Linked DNA regions of Homo sapiens: all the other regions are linked to region 1. Evidence: promoter capture Hi-C in 16 types of primary human blood cells and fetal thymus (Javierre and others, 2016). All regions are on one chromosome and are shown on one strand. Each heading gives the region's core, a stretch centred on a gene start or on the middle of the fragment in contact. The rest is flanking DNA. Distances are from core to core; before and after follow the strand shown. Region 1 holds the start of RAD1 (RAD1 checkpoint DNA exonuclease). Region 2 overlaps SPEF2 (sperm flagellar 2). Region 3 overlaps SPEF2 (sperm flagellar 2). Region 4 has its middle 19 kb from the start of IL7R.

The links. Contacts are between HindIII fragments. The CHiCAGO score rates a contact against its expected background, and 5 or more counts as called.
Region 2: a contact is called between a fragment that was not itself captured here and the fragment with the promoter of RAD1 in region 1, in 1 of 17 cell types (activated CD4 T cells). The highest score is 5.2, in activated CD4 T cells.
Region 3: a contact is called between a fragment that was not itself captured here and the fragment with the promoter of RAD1 in region 1, in 1 of 17 cell types (total CD8 T cells). The highest score is 5.3, in total CD8 T cells.
Region 4: a contact is called between a fragment that was not itself captured here and the fragment with the promoter of RAD1 in region 1, in 1 of 17 cell types (activated CD4 T cells). The highest score is 5.4, in activated CD4 T cells.

What each region holds. Positions count from the first base shown.
Region 1 is chr5:34,914,053-34,917,268 of GRCh38, forward strand. RAD1 (RAD1 checkpoint DNA exonuclease) reads right to left here and starts at 1,452. Exons shown (of 6, transcript NM_002853.4): 1 at 1,364-1,452; 2 at 643-909. The coding sequence starts at 840. BRIX1 (biogenesis of ribosomes BRX1) reads left to right here and starts at 1,659. Exons shown (of 10, transcript NM_018321.4): 1 at 1,659-1,845. The coding sequence starts at 1,687. It also overlaps a transcript of TTC23L not described here. RefSeq lists enhancers at 1,036-1,641, 1,088-1,147, 1,168-2,067, 1,642-2,247. The HindIII fragment of the contact is 14,569 bases long and covers 1-3,216 here.
Region 2 is chr5:35,780,028-35,783,153 of GRCh38, forward strand. The region is part of intron 30 of SPEF2 (sperm flagellar 2); the gene reads left to right. Among named protein-coding and RNA genes, the nearest start is that of IL7R, 75 kb to the right of the region's middle. The HindIII fragment of the contact is 2,361 bases long and covers 306-2,666 here.
Region 3 is chr5:35,624,992-35,627,941 of GRCh38, forward strand. All of the region lies in intron 1 of SPEF2 (sperm flagellar 2), which reads left to right. Among named protein-coding and RNA genes, the nearest start is that of SPEF2, 8.6 kb to the left of the region's middle. The HindIII fragment of the contact is 207 bases long and covers 1,176-1,382 here.
Region 4 is chr5:35,836,206-35,839,482 of GRCh38, forward strand. No RefSeq gene overlaps it. Among named protein-coding and RNA genes, the nearest start is that of IL7R, 19 kb to the right of the region's middle. The HindIII fragment of the contact is 5,067 bases long and covers 1-3,277 here.

The DNA.
Region 1 (3,216 bases), core at 202-2,701:
ATTTACCTCTCTATCCCTGAGATCATGCTGTGCACTTACGTGTTAAAAAACGCTTAGTTGAACTTGCAATCCTATCTGAACCACACAAATATTACTTTGGAAGAACAAAAATTCTATTACAACCAGTAAAGGAAAAAAATACTCTTTAGTAATAGCATATCGCAGTGGAAAAAAGAGCATATATTCTGGAAACAAATATTCAGCGTTCTTATCCCAATTCAGCCACTTACCAGCTGTGGGACTGTTGGCAAATCACTTAAAATTGTGCCTCGTTTCCACATATATAAAACGGGAATAATAACAGAACCTACCTTACAGGACTATTGTTAAGATTAAATAAGTTAAACAATAAGAAGACTGTAGCCTAGCCAATAGCCTAGTTTAATAAACTTTAGTCATTACTAACCATTATCTCTGTAAAACAAGATGGGAAAAGAATTTGTTACCGGGAGAGAAAAAAAATTCAAGTAATGACGTTTTGTTCTCTAACTTAAGACTATTATTTATTTATTAAGTTATTTATTATGACTATTGACAAGTTATTATGACTATTAAGTTATTTTGTCTACTGAAACCTTCCGATTTCATTAAATTACATTTAGAGTATCTATGGCACAGGCTTAAAGGCGCCTACTTCCATACCTGAATAAAAGCATTTGCTTGCACACACTTTGCATTTTCCACTGTTACTTTGATACCATTTTTAGTTGCGAAACACGTGGCATGTTCTCGGAAATGAATAGCTTTCAAGATAGTGGAGAGATTCCTAACGTTGTCAAGGCTGGCCACAAGGCTGTACTGATCATCCTCGTCTTGGATCTGTTGGGTCAGAAGGGGCATCGTCCACTGCGCATTCGGCCCCGAGGGATGCTCCTGGGGCCAACAACTTCTCGGCGGATCGCCAAACACCTGAAGGGATTAGACAGTAAAACTCCCATCAGTGCTGGCGAGGTCCGGCGAGCTCCACCTGCGCTGAGAGGTGGAAAGGGGCTGGGAGGCTGAACACGGCTGACCAGGCCGAACCCCACCTATGTCACTTAACTATCTTTGTAATTCTGGAGGAAAATTATCTAAGCTACGGTTTCCTCGTCTCCGTAAGAGGACAATAACGTGAAAAGTTGTGAAGAATGAAGACACGCAACTGACACGGTATCTCCCGGCCAAACAGGAGCTACAAATCCGCGGGGAGTCGGTTTTGTGCAGCCCGCGCCACCAGCCCCGCCTCCAACAAAACAGGCGATGGCGGGGCGGGCCCGGAGTGTCCAGATAATCCTCCAAGAGTCCCAGACAACCCCATTCACCAGCCCGCCCGCGGGACAGCATCGCTTACTAGTCTCGGGGTCCCCGAGTGCGGAAACCCTACCTTTGCGGTGGGGTCTGGACGCCCGAGAGCCCTTCTCAGCAAAGTCCCTGAAGAGGAGCGAGGCGGCTCCGAGGAACCGCGGAGGAAGTGAAGCCAGTCCCGCCACTCTTCAGACCGGCCCTCCACCTCGGCCACCGTCACCACAGAGCTGAAGGAGGCCTAGAGAGCCGCGCGTGCCGCGCCACCGAGACCGGAAGGAGGCGGCACAGACCTGGAGGACGACCGCGGAGCTGAGCGCTTAGAGCCGCCGAACCATAGAGATCGGAAATAGGAGCGAGCGGCAGCGCCGGAAAGGAGGCCAAGAGCGCGGGCGGCGAGGCAAGATGGCGGCAACCAAGAGGAAACGGCGTGGAGGCTTTGCAGTTCAGGCGAAGAAGCCAAAAAGAAACGAAATAGATGCGGAGCCGCCAGCTAAGCGGCACGCCACAGCAGAGGAGGTGGAGGAAGAAGAGAGGGACCGGATCCCAGGCCCCGTTTGCAAGGTAGGAGGGGATGTCCCCGGGCTACACCTGCGGCGGCGGCTCTGTGCGCCTTTTCTTGGGTTACTTACTTGACTACAGCCTTGCTTAATTTCAGAGTAGCCCGGGTGTTAACGGTAGGTCGGTTTTAGCAATTCTCCCGGCCAGACTGGGCACGGAGTTTGCAGCTAATCCTTGTGCACGTGGCCGTCTTCCTGGAGGCGGCGGGTTTTAAAACCTTTACCCGGCCCACGGGGAAGCGACTTACAGGGTGCTCAGATCCAGCGTTCTTTCTTACTAGTTGTTCAGTTGTTTTTTTTTTTTAATGTTTTTGGAGAGTAGTGCTTTTCCTTGGTTATTTCTCGCTATTATTTCTCCAGTGATTAGTATGCCCATATACTGCCATAGTCAGCCACTCTCAGTCAGGGATCCTGAAGTACGTTAGGGGAGCCTTTAAAAAGTTGTTGCCCTTGGGACTGTGACTCTGACTTGTTAACCAGGTCATTAACTCAAGAGATACTGAAAAATAGACTAGGTAGTATGAGCTTTACTTGTATTCAACAGACATTGAATGTGCCATGCACTGTACCAAGTTAGGCTTCCTTTGGGTTTGAGATTGCAAAGATGACTAGAATGTGACCTCTTCCTCCTGAAATGTTGGAGTTTAGGAGGAAACTTAAGAATTCAAATAAGTTGATGGTTTTTATTCAAAAGAAGTGCACACAAGTTGTTAGAATTAGCTTTCATTCAACTAAGAACTCTTCTTAAGCTAGACAGAATACTGTGAACAAGGATTATCTTTGACATTAATTTTTGCGTCCTCCGCACTTAGCATAGTACTCTAGCGCGGAGTAGGTGATAAGTAAATGACCCCGTGTGGTGTGATGGCAAGCTCTAAGAAAGAAGTGAGCTCTGTGGAATGAAAGATAAGTGTAAATTCTAGCCCCGTTATTAACAGCAACATTCTGTGCTCTTTTCTGACCTGCAGATTGGGGGGCAGGGGGAGGGAATATTTACTTTTTATGAAAAATAAGCTGGACTTGTACACTTCCAGTAAATGTTAGTGTTCTCACTCTTCCCTTGAGCTAGGTAGTATCTATAATCTGAGCCATACTTCGATACATTCTATGGAAGTGCAGGAGATATAGATTATTTTTACCCTAGTATAATAAGATAAAGAATCATGAAGGATTTAGCCCGTAAGCTGCATATCAGAGGAAGTGTAGAATTTTGACATTCAAAAAATGAGAGGGAACACTCCAAGGGAGAAAAAAAAACCGATGAAAGACTTTGAAGTAGGGAAATGCTGAAAAATGTAAAAAATAGAGCCAGATTGGATTGCATTAGGCTTCATTTGGGGCAATAATGATGTAGACGTGAAAATCTATTTTAAAA
Region 2 (3,126 bases), core at 236-2,735, 870 kb after region 1:
CCACTTTAAAGGTCTAGATACTGACTCACAGAGGAGTTTAGCAGATTTTTTGCCTATGGTCATATATCATTCAGAACTCTGCAGATCCAAAGTTCTTGCCCCTTCTCACTGAACTAAGTTGCCTCTCATAAGCAGATTTCTTTTACTTTTCAACATATACTACTTATTGGGAAATTATTACTTTTCCCTGTAGCATAGTCAACTGACTTTAGTATTAATACAATGTTACTTTTTAAAAAAGTCCAGTATTTCCAGAAATTCACATCATATATCATTAGTAAAAAGAGCATTACTCTAAGTCCGAAAGCTTCCTTGCCAAGCCCAATAGGTGAAATTGGTGTATGTGTGTGTGCCTGGGTGAACCTTGCGCTTTGATGTGTCAGCTCATCAAATCAGCTAGAGCAGGCTTTACAGCTCCAAGGTATAAAAGCCCACACTTCAGCTGTGGAGGGACGGAGGTGCCATTTGGCAGCATTTGGGCACGAAGGAAACATGGCCATCAGCAGGTACAAAAAATCTCGACTTTACAAATCAGTCCATGAAATTCCTTCAGTCCTTTAGTCAGACAGAGTGCACCCTCTTCTACATGGTGCGAGCTCCACAATGCCCTGTTATTATGTACTTCCCTCTTCAGAGTTGCTTTTTCTCTTCATTTTATCCAGGCCATTATTTTACACATAAAATAAAAAGATAAGTGTAAGTGGATTCTAAACATGACATGTGGTTTGCTTTAATCCTACACTCTGGTGACTGGGAGGAAATCACTCAATTAATAGGTAAAAACTAAAGGCATCTGGGGACACTTGAATAGGTAGAAGTGGATTTTGAAAATTATCATCCACTTACAATATATCTTTCAGCAGGGACCCTAGTATCCATGATGCTAATCATAATACTTTCTTGGATCCAACCTCAAATCCAGAGCTCATATTTCCACTAAAAATTTAAAAATAAATTTTAAAAAATAGCAGCTATAACTTGACATGTGTCTCAGAAGATTAACTCTAGAAACCCTTGGGACACAAAGATGTCAACAGATAAATGTTTTCAGACTATGGGAGAAATAAGAAGGGAGGGAGAGGAAGTAAAGGAAGGGAGGGAGGGAGAAACGGAGTTGTTTTTTTTTTAATTTTTATTTTTTTAAAAGCAGAGTAAAAGGAAACCATTTGCCCTAGGAGCTGAGAGTTTAATTTGAAAAGGCAAGCAAAGAGGAAGGAAATATGAACAACTATTTGAGTTCTTTCTGGGACACAGTATGAATGTTATTCAAGTGCTCAAGAATGCAAAGCATCAGTGTGCCCTGAAATTGGTCAGGGAAAAGTCTGTGGAGCAAAACTTTGGAGGGAGAAATTGAAGAGGGTAAAGAGATTTTGTGGCAAGGCTACAGAGAATGTTTACAGTTAGGGGAACAGCTGCTGGAAACTCTGTAGACAAGAAGCGTGAGGATAGGAGCATGATGTTTGGGAAATGTTTAGGAGACTGCTCTGCTTTTCTTTCTCCAACTGCATGAACTCCAGGCGAGTAGAAGAGGAGGCTTTCTCTGTGTGAGGAACCACCTCCTCCCACCCAAGCTGGAGAATTAACCCATATGCAAGAATAACAGTTGTAATTACCACAGAATTTACAAGGCTATACAATACGGTAGGATTTGGGGATTGTGATGATTCAAAGTGAGTTATGTATGGTCTATGGGCAAACAGTTTAAACTCTTTTCTCTATTAGCTCAATTATACCATTTGAAAAAATATATATTGCATATATTGCTTTTTAGGTATATCTAAAATAATTAATAAGTGTTGGGAATTTGATTGACAGGAGTAACGTTCATTGTTATTATTCTTGCTATTCTTATAGAGGGCAGGGAAAAGTATTACTCCATTTTTCTGCATCCCAGAGTCACAGAATTGGAGGTTCTCTACTGATACTCTTGAAATCAGGCTCCAAACATTGACAATGGCCCTGCCTGAGGAAACCCATTAACTGCCACTCACCCCTTTTCCCCATCTCTTCTGGCCCCACAAAGTATACTCTGGCTTTTTTGTTTTTCTACCCCGGTTTGGCAATTGTTCACTTAAGAAACATGACACACACCCATCCGTCTTTTAAATGAAGGCTTTTGTTGTATTTCTTCCAAGAAATGGAAAACAATCCTTTATGATACCTTCCACTGTATTTACCCTAGAACTCTATAATTTCAAAACACAATCTTAGTGAGTGATAGCAGGTTTGAAAGTGTGGAGGAGCTGGCTGAACATGTGTGTTTCAAATGTGTGATCCTGCAGAACTTCCTGCTCAAACTTGCTATTATTTCTATGCCAAGAAATAAAAACATTTTCCTATATTATTTCATATATGCCCATGCAATCCATAATATCTAAGATGCAACTTTCAAGTTCACTAAAATATATTAAAACAGATGGATTTTTTTGGGAGGGAAGCATACATATTTATTTGCATATAACAGCCATTATGTTACTAGGCCCATGGTAGGATTTTTTAGCAGATTTATAAAAAGCACTGATGTTACTAAATTACACTTTGCATGTTTTAATCATGCCACACAAATACAAGTATTGGATTATTATTTAATCTTTGATTAGAACAATGACTGAATGCTTTAAATACTTGCAACTAGATAGTATCAAGATGTAAATGGAAAGAACTAAAGCTTAAGGGGTTTTCTGCTAAGTATTGGTTAATCCCTTTGAAAACAAAAGTCTCCATTAAAATAGCCCTTACTAAAGATAACATAAAATTGAAAAGCATCATATATTGTAACATATTCAACACTCCTTTTCTGGTCAAATTCTGCCACTTATGATGATTCTACCTCTCTTTTGGTAAAGGTAATGATTAGACATAAAATATTATTTATTGATTATTATTAACACAAATATACCAGAAAAAATAATGACCTTATACATGATAATCAAATTAGATCATGCAAAATGCAATGAAACAGTTGATTACACTTGCATTTTTCCTGCCACTTAACAAAGATCCATACTTTAGAAGCATAAGAACAGTATGAGTAAAAGAAAGCAAACCATTCTTTCCATCACCTATCCTAGGAATCATTCCTATGAGCGTACTACCGGCAGAGTTAGATCTAGTGAATATTTTCTG
Region 3 (2,950 bases), core at 29-2,528, 710 kb after region 1:
CAGCTTTTTCTTTCTTTGTCTAATTTCCTATATGTATTCTTTTTTCTTTTTCTTTTAATTTTTTTCTCCAAGTTTCCCCTTTATTGCTTTTATCATTTGCTGTATTCGTCACTCACTGTTCTAGTTTCTGCTGATGTGGTACATGGTAAATCTGAAGTGTCTTATGCATAAAAAGCTTCAGACAGATATTTTGATACTTACAGATTTTTTATAAACTACTCTGACAATGAAGTACATTAAGTGTTTACTATTGTTCTTTAACCTTTATACTATAAACACCTCTATTTTATCCATATCATAATTGCCTTATTAATATGCCATGCCATTTCAAAGGAAATGGGTAATGATTTTATTTTTCTGGTGACCTTTTTGTAGAAAATGGTTTGTTACAGACCGTTTGTCAGCCACACTGAAGATGAAGGAAACGGATTTAGTATTCCCCAGTTATTCCTGGGCTAGACTTTCAGCATTCAGTCAACGTGAACAACAGGCACAGTGCAAACCCCAGAGGGAGGCAGGAAGGGAAAGAGATTACCTGAAGGTAACATAGCAACAGCTCTTGAACAGAAAGCAATAAGCCAAAAATTGGGACAAGACCCTGATGGCGTAGGAATAGAAAGACACAGATACATCCATAGATGAATAATGGTTCTATGTCCAGTGGCTCTTTAGAAAACTAAGGGAAGAATAGGGATAGGCTAGGGAGGAGAGAAGGGAAGAGGCAGACAGAAGAAAGCAACAGACAGAAGAGGTGAAAGACACAGCTAGAGCACCCTGGGTGGCACATTGAGGGTCATGGTGGCAACGAGAGCTTTGGGGTCTGTAAGGGAAGGAGAAAGCTGCAGTGACACAGGAGGAGGTGGCACACTTTTGCCCATTGGAGCAGAAGGAACCCTTTGGATTTCAGTTGCTTTAAAGACTACTGAGGTATGAAGCCGGAAGACACTTGCTGAATGACAGATGACATTTAGTATAAGATCAAGCCAATCTTCATTTTAGTAGCATCGAAAGGCATTATGATATTCAAATGGTGTTGCGTTAAAGTCGGAAAAAATCAGTGCCTAGGTTATGAAGCTCAAGCTTAACTTGTGCTGTAAGGTGTTCCAGGCGGTACAATAGATCTAGCTGAGTTATAGAGCTCAGGTATGCCATGAATTTCAAATTCTCCTGCTGGAAGCTTTAGGACATACTCTTCTCTAAGTATATTTTCTCAAGAGTTGCTTCAGTGTTTCACATTAAGACATAGCTTCGGAAGGACAGATATGACTGATAGGAAGGGCATCAAACCATCAACTCTGAAAGAATGTATCATGGGTTTAGAGTGAGATCATTCTGCCCTGAATAGTTTTAAAATGATGATAAAACTGGTCTGTTTGTGGAAAAGCTTACTAAAATCCACTAATAGGTGCCAGACTGTGGACTTTAAGAATAGATGCAATGTGTCTGTTCTCACATGAACTATAGCTGAACACAAGGTTATGTGATTGGAAGCTTTCATTTTCCTAGGGCTTATAAAAGTTTCATTTCTTTACTTGTTGCTAAAGTGATCCATAGACAAAAAAAGCATTGCTTCCCCTTAATGTTTTTTACCTTTTATTTTTTCTATTGCATATAAAAATTATGTAACCATAATTAATAGATTCTAATTCTAGACAGTTCAAGAGCTCACCCTGAGTACATAGAATCAGTGGGAACCATTGACATCTTTTTAACTACCTTTATTATTGTATTGACTCAACTTAAGGATTGAGGTATTACTCTGAGTATAAAGGGTTTTGAGAACAGATATTAAGAAAGTCTTAGAGAAAACTGTGTTCTGGTATCAGACATGCAAAAAGTATTATGATAGGGTGTAATCTTTGGAGTGAGGACTGCACAGTGGCTGTTATGGAGCAACTTAGCTCAACTTCCTACAACCACACAACCAAGCATCGCTTCTACAAATCATGAAGAAATGTTATTTCTTCACTGTCAATTAGCCACCTCATTATTAGTCAGACAGGTAAAATAGAACAATCTGGCAAAACTGAATTTGTGATACTGCAATGACATATAATATTTTAACCGATGTTAAAATATTATATTTAATATAATATGTTATATTATATGTTAACCTGATGGAAGCAGGTTGAATATCTGTGGAGGATTTTGAAGTAATTTGAGAGATGATAGCTTTGGCCTATGATAATATAATTTATTTTGTATATAATCCTTAAATATCATGTAAGTCTATATATTTTACTTTATAAGAAAAATACAAGTAACTCAAAACTAAGAACATTTTTTAAAAAAGCAAATCCTATTGAACACTTAAAAATTTTTTTTCTCGGCTGGGCACGGTGGCTCATGCCTGTAATCCCAGCACTTTGGGAGGCCGAGTCAGGTGGATCATGAAGTCAAAAGATCGAGACCAACCTGGGCAACATGGTGAAACCCCCCTCTCTACTAAAAATACAAAAATTTGCTGGGTGTGGTGGCACACACCTGTAATCCCAGCTACTCGGGAGGCTGAGGCAGGAGAATCGCTTGAACCCAGGAGTCAGAGGTTGTAGATCAGGCCACTGCACTCAGAGGTTGTAGATTAGGCCACAGCCTAGGCGACACAGTGAGACTCCATCAAAAAATAAAATAAAATTCTGCACTTATCATTATGTGCCTACTATGTGGCAGGCATGGCACCCAGCAATTCTCAAACACTGCTGCAAAAGAGAGCTATTAATATTAAATAGCTCTCTGATATAAGATATAGATATGGTTATCTTTGTTCTAGACATGAGGCTGAAACTCAGGAAGATGAAGCAGCTTGCCCAACGTCACACAGCTAGTAAGGGGCAGAGCCAAGATTCCAGCACAGGTATCTCTGGCTCTAAAGTCAGTTTTCCCCTGGGCTATCTCTCAGTAATTGCATAGGACAATAACTGGGCCATAGTGTCCCCTCTGAACCATGAAG
Region 4 (3,277 bases), core at 22-2,521, 920 kb after region 1:
ACTTAGATCTCATATCCTAGTTCATCTGTGAATGCAAAACATAGCAATGAGTTATCATCTTGATTACCAAAAAGGAGAAAAAGTTCTGAGCAACAGTGAATCAAGATCGGTGTGAACACAAAGAGGGGGAAAAACACTACAGCAAAGTACAGGGAAACAGACAGTGAAAAACATCTATTTTTTTTTTTTTGACCAAATGAGAGTCAATTAAAAACTCACAAAATATAAAAAAGAAAGATCAATGTAACTCAGACCACAGTGAAGACTGATTGCTTTACATACTCCATCTGTCAATAAAATGCGTTTTTGAAATGAGTCTGGAGAGTGAGCAGCCTTGCTCCTCTTCCCTGGCCACCCACTCTTGCAGCCTCCTAGGACCGTGTTAATTTGGGACACAGTGCAGGTGCTCTATCCACATAACACCAGACCGGGTGGCTGACCGGGGAAGAGTTCAGTGCATTGTGTGTCTGATCTCCAAAGAAAGACTGGTTTGATAGTTAATATTTTGAATTGACTGACTTTGGTGATTGACTAGAAGAGCCCAGGTTTGCATGAAATCAAATAAAGGGAGCAAAGTAGGAAAATCAACCTTTGATGCTGAGGACAACAAAGAAAGCACATATCATGGATCAACCAGCAATAATAGCCACCGTTTGCTGAATACCTGTTACGTGCCAGGTTCCTGCTAAATGCTTTAAGGCTCATAACTGCCCTTTACAAAGGTATTATTATCTGCATTTTTGAAATGAGAAAACTGAGGCTGAGTGGAGTGGCTTGCACTGAGTGGAGTGGCTTGCACAGCCAGGTTCTTCCTACCACCCTGTAAATGATCTCTGATGTGATTGATAGCTCTCTAATGGTTATTAGCCTTTCCCATGTTGTATTGTGGTTATCTGTTTTAATTGCTTCATCCCCTCGTATCATGAGCAGATAGATATTTAAAATGTTTGCATATCCTTGAAATCTAGTCCCTGTTGTACAGTAAATTTTTTTAAAAAATTGAATACTACAATTTAAGAATTTTGTCTAGTATAAAGGTTTTTAAAAATTGTTTTATTTGTTTATTTCTTGCTATGTATATTCTAACTGTATGCCTGAGCTGGTTATTTAAATTTCCTAAGTTTTAGATACTTCACCTGTAAAATGAGAATAGTACTACAATTTACAAGAGTTGTAGTGACGCATACATAAAACAATAAATACCTGCACAAAGTAAGCAACAACAAAAACTACTGCTGCAGAAACGCTCCTATCAAAGTGGAAATTGATCAGTATACTGAAAATAAGAAGATAAAGAGTAAAATCATTAAAAAATCATAACCTGAACATTTTTACTTAATATGCATTCATTTCTAATATGTTGGTATAAGACTAAATAGTTTTTCTTTTAGTATAGTTCCTTTTACTGGAGATTGATATTGTTTTCCCTGTATTTCATAAGGCCTCATCTAATAATTTATAGTTTAACTTTCTCTTAAGTGGAGTAATATCCTGTTGTGAAGCTGAGTGAACAGTGCATTTACATGTTTACGTTTTTATACTAATCATTAAAAATTCTCTCATACTTAATCTGTTACAATTTTTTTCTTTCCTTTTTTTGAGATGGAGTTTCACTCTTGTCCCTCAGGCTGGAGTGCAGTGGCACGATCTCGGCTCACTGAAACCTCTGCCTCCCAGGTTCAAACTATTCTCCTGCCTCAGCCTCCAGAGTGTCTGAGATTACAGGTGCCCACCACCATGCCCAGCTAGTTTTTGTATTTTTAGTAGAGACGAGGTTTCACCATGTTGACCAGGCCGGTCTTGAACTCCTGACCTCAGGTGATCCACACTCCTCAGCCTCCCAAAGTGCTGGGATGACAGGTGTGAGCCACTGTGCCCGGCCTCAACTTTACTTTTCAAATAATTCTAACATGTCTTATAGAAATGATCATTTTTATTTTATATTGATAGTTCACCAGTTGATCTAGTACTTAACTTACCTGTATAATTATAATAACAATTACATCTGGTGTAAACAAGTTTGCAGACAAACACAATTTGTCTTTGGTAAATAAACAACTCCACTGGTCAGAGCAGTGTGGCTTGGGTGGTCAGCAGGTCTGAAGAGTCAGTTATGGGAAGGTCAGATAAGATAGTTTCTATTATACATGGTTGTTCTTATTGTCTGTTCTCTCTCTTAACATGTAGCACTAATATAGATTTTTACTGCAGATTTTTTGAGAATTTGGAGCAAGGCTGTTATGTGGTACAATACACACAGTAAGATAGCCCAGGACTCTCAGTTCGCACAAAGATCTATGGCATATGTCACTGCCAACTTGTGCAGCATCCCACTCTCCTTAGTCCCTCACTATGTTTCTTCTCTGGTGACTCAAGCTCTTGGCATCTATACCCATATTTTCCCTACATGTGCACATCAGCTATTTCTTTTCTTAAATAAAACAAAGCATGCCAGTTGTCTATCAATACTAAAACTTGGTTTTTAGCCACACAAGTAGACCCATTGCCTATAACCACACCCTTGAAGAGCCAGCCCCCATTCATCCAACCACGCAATGATCTCGTTCAACCCCTCACACCCAAAGAGAATGCCGCAGTGTCTGGTGGGTCAAATATGCTTTCCAAAACACTTGTAGCTTCTATGAAATAGAGTCCAGTTTCAAAGAAGACAGATCTCTATTGCATGGGCACATCTATGAGTATTTGACAATGTGAAGTAAGAGATTTTCAATCTCACTAAAGTCCCATGAACGACATATAATTCTTCAAATCACATCATCTGCTCTATGATTCACCTCTTCCTGTATTGATTCTGTGATTCTACTTATTCATATGAGAATACTAAAGTATGATTATTTTATTAGTAATGCTTTCTTCAATCAGATATTAGAATGGGACTTGACTTGAACAGATGCTGTCAACAAGATATTGCCCTCCTCTATCCTCTCCTCTCCATGAGATTATATATATATATATATATATATATATATATATATATATAGAGAGAGAGAGAGAGAGAGAGAGAGAGAGAGAGAGAGATAGTAGGTTAGAAAGACATGCCATTGAAACAATCAACAAAATTGACAGCAACCATTAACTAGACCACCCATGTAAAAGAGAGAAGACTCAAATTACTAAAATCAAGAGTGAAAGAGGAGACATCACCACTGACTTTACAATAATTAAAGGAATTATTAAATAATTAAAAAATAATAAAAGGGAATACTATGATCCACTATATGCCAACAAATTAGATAACCTAAGTGATGGACAAATT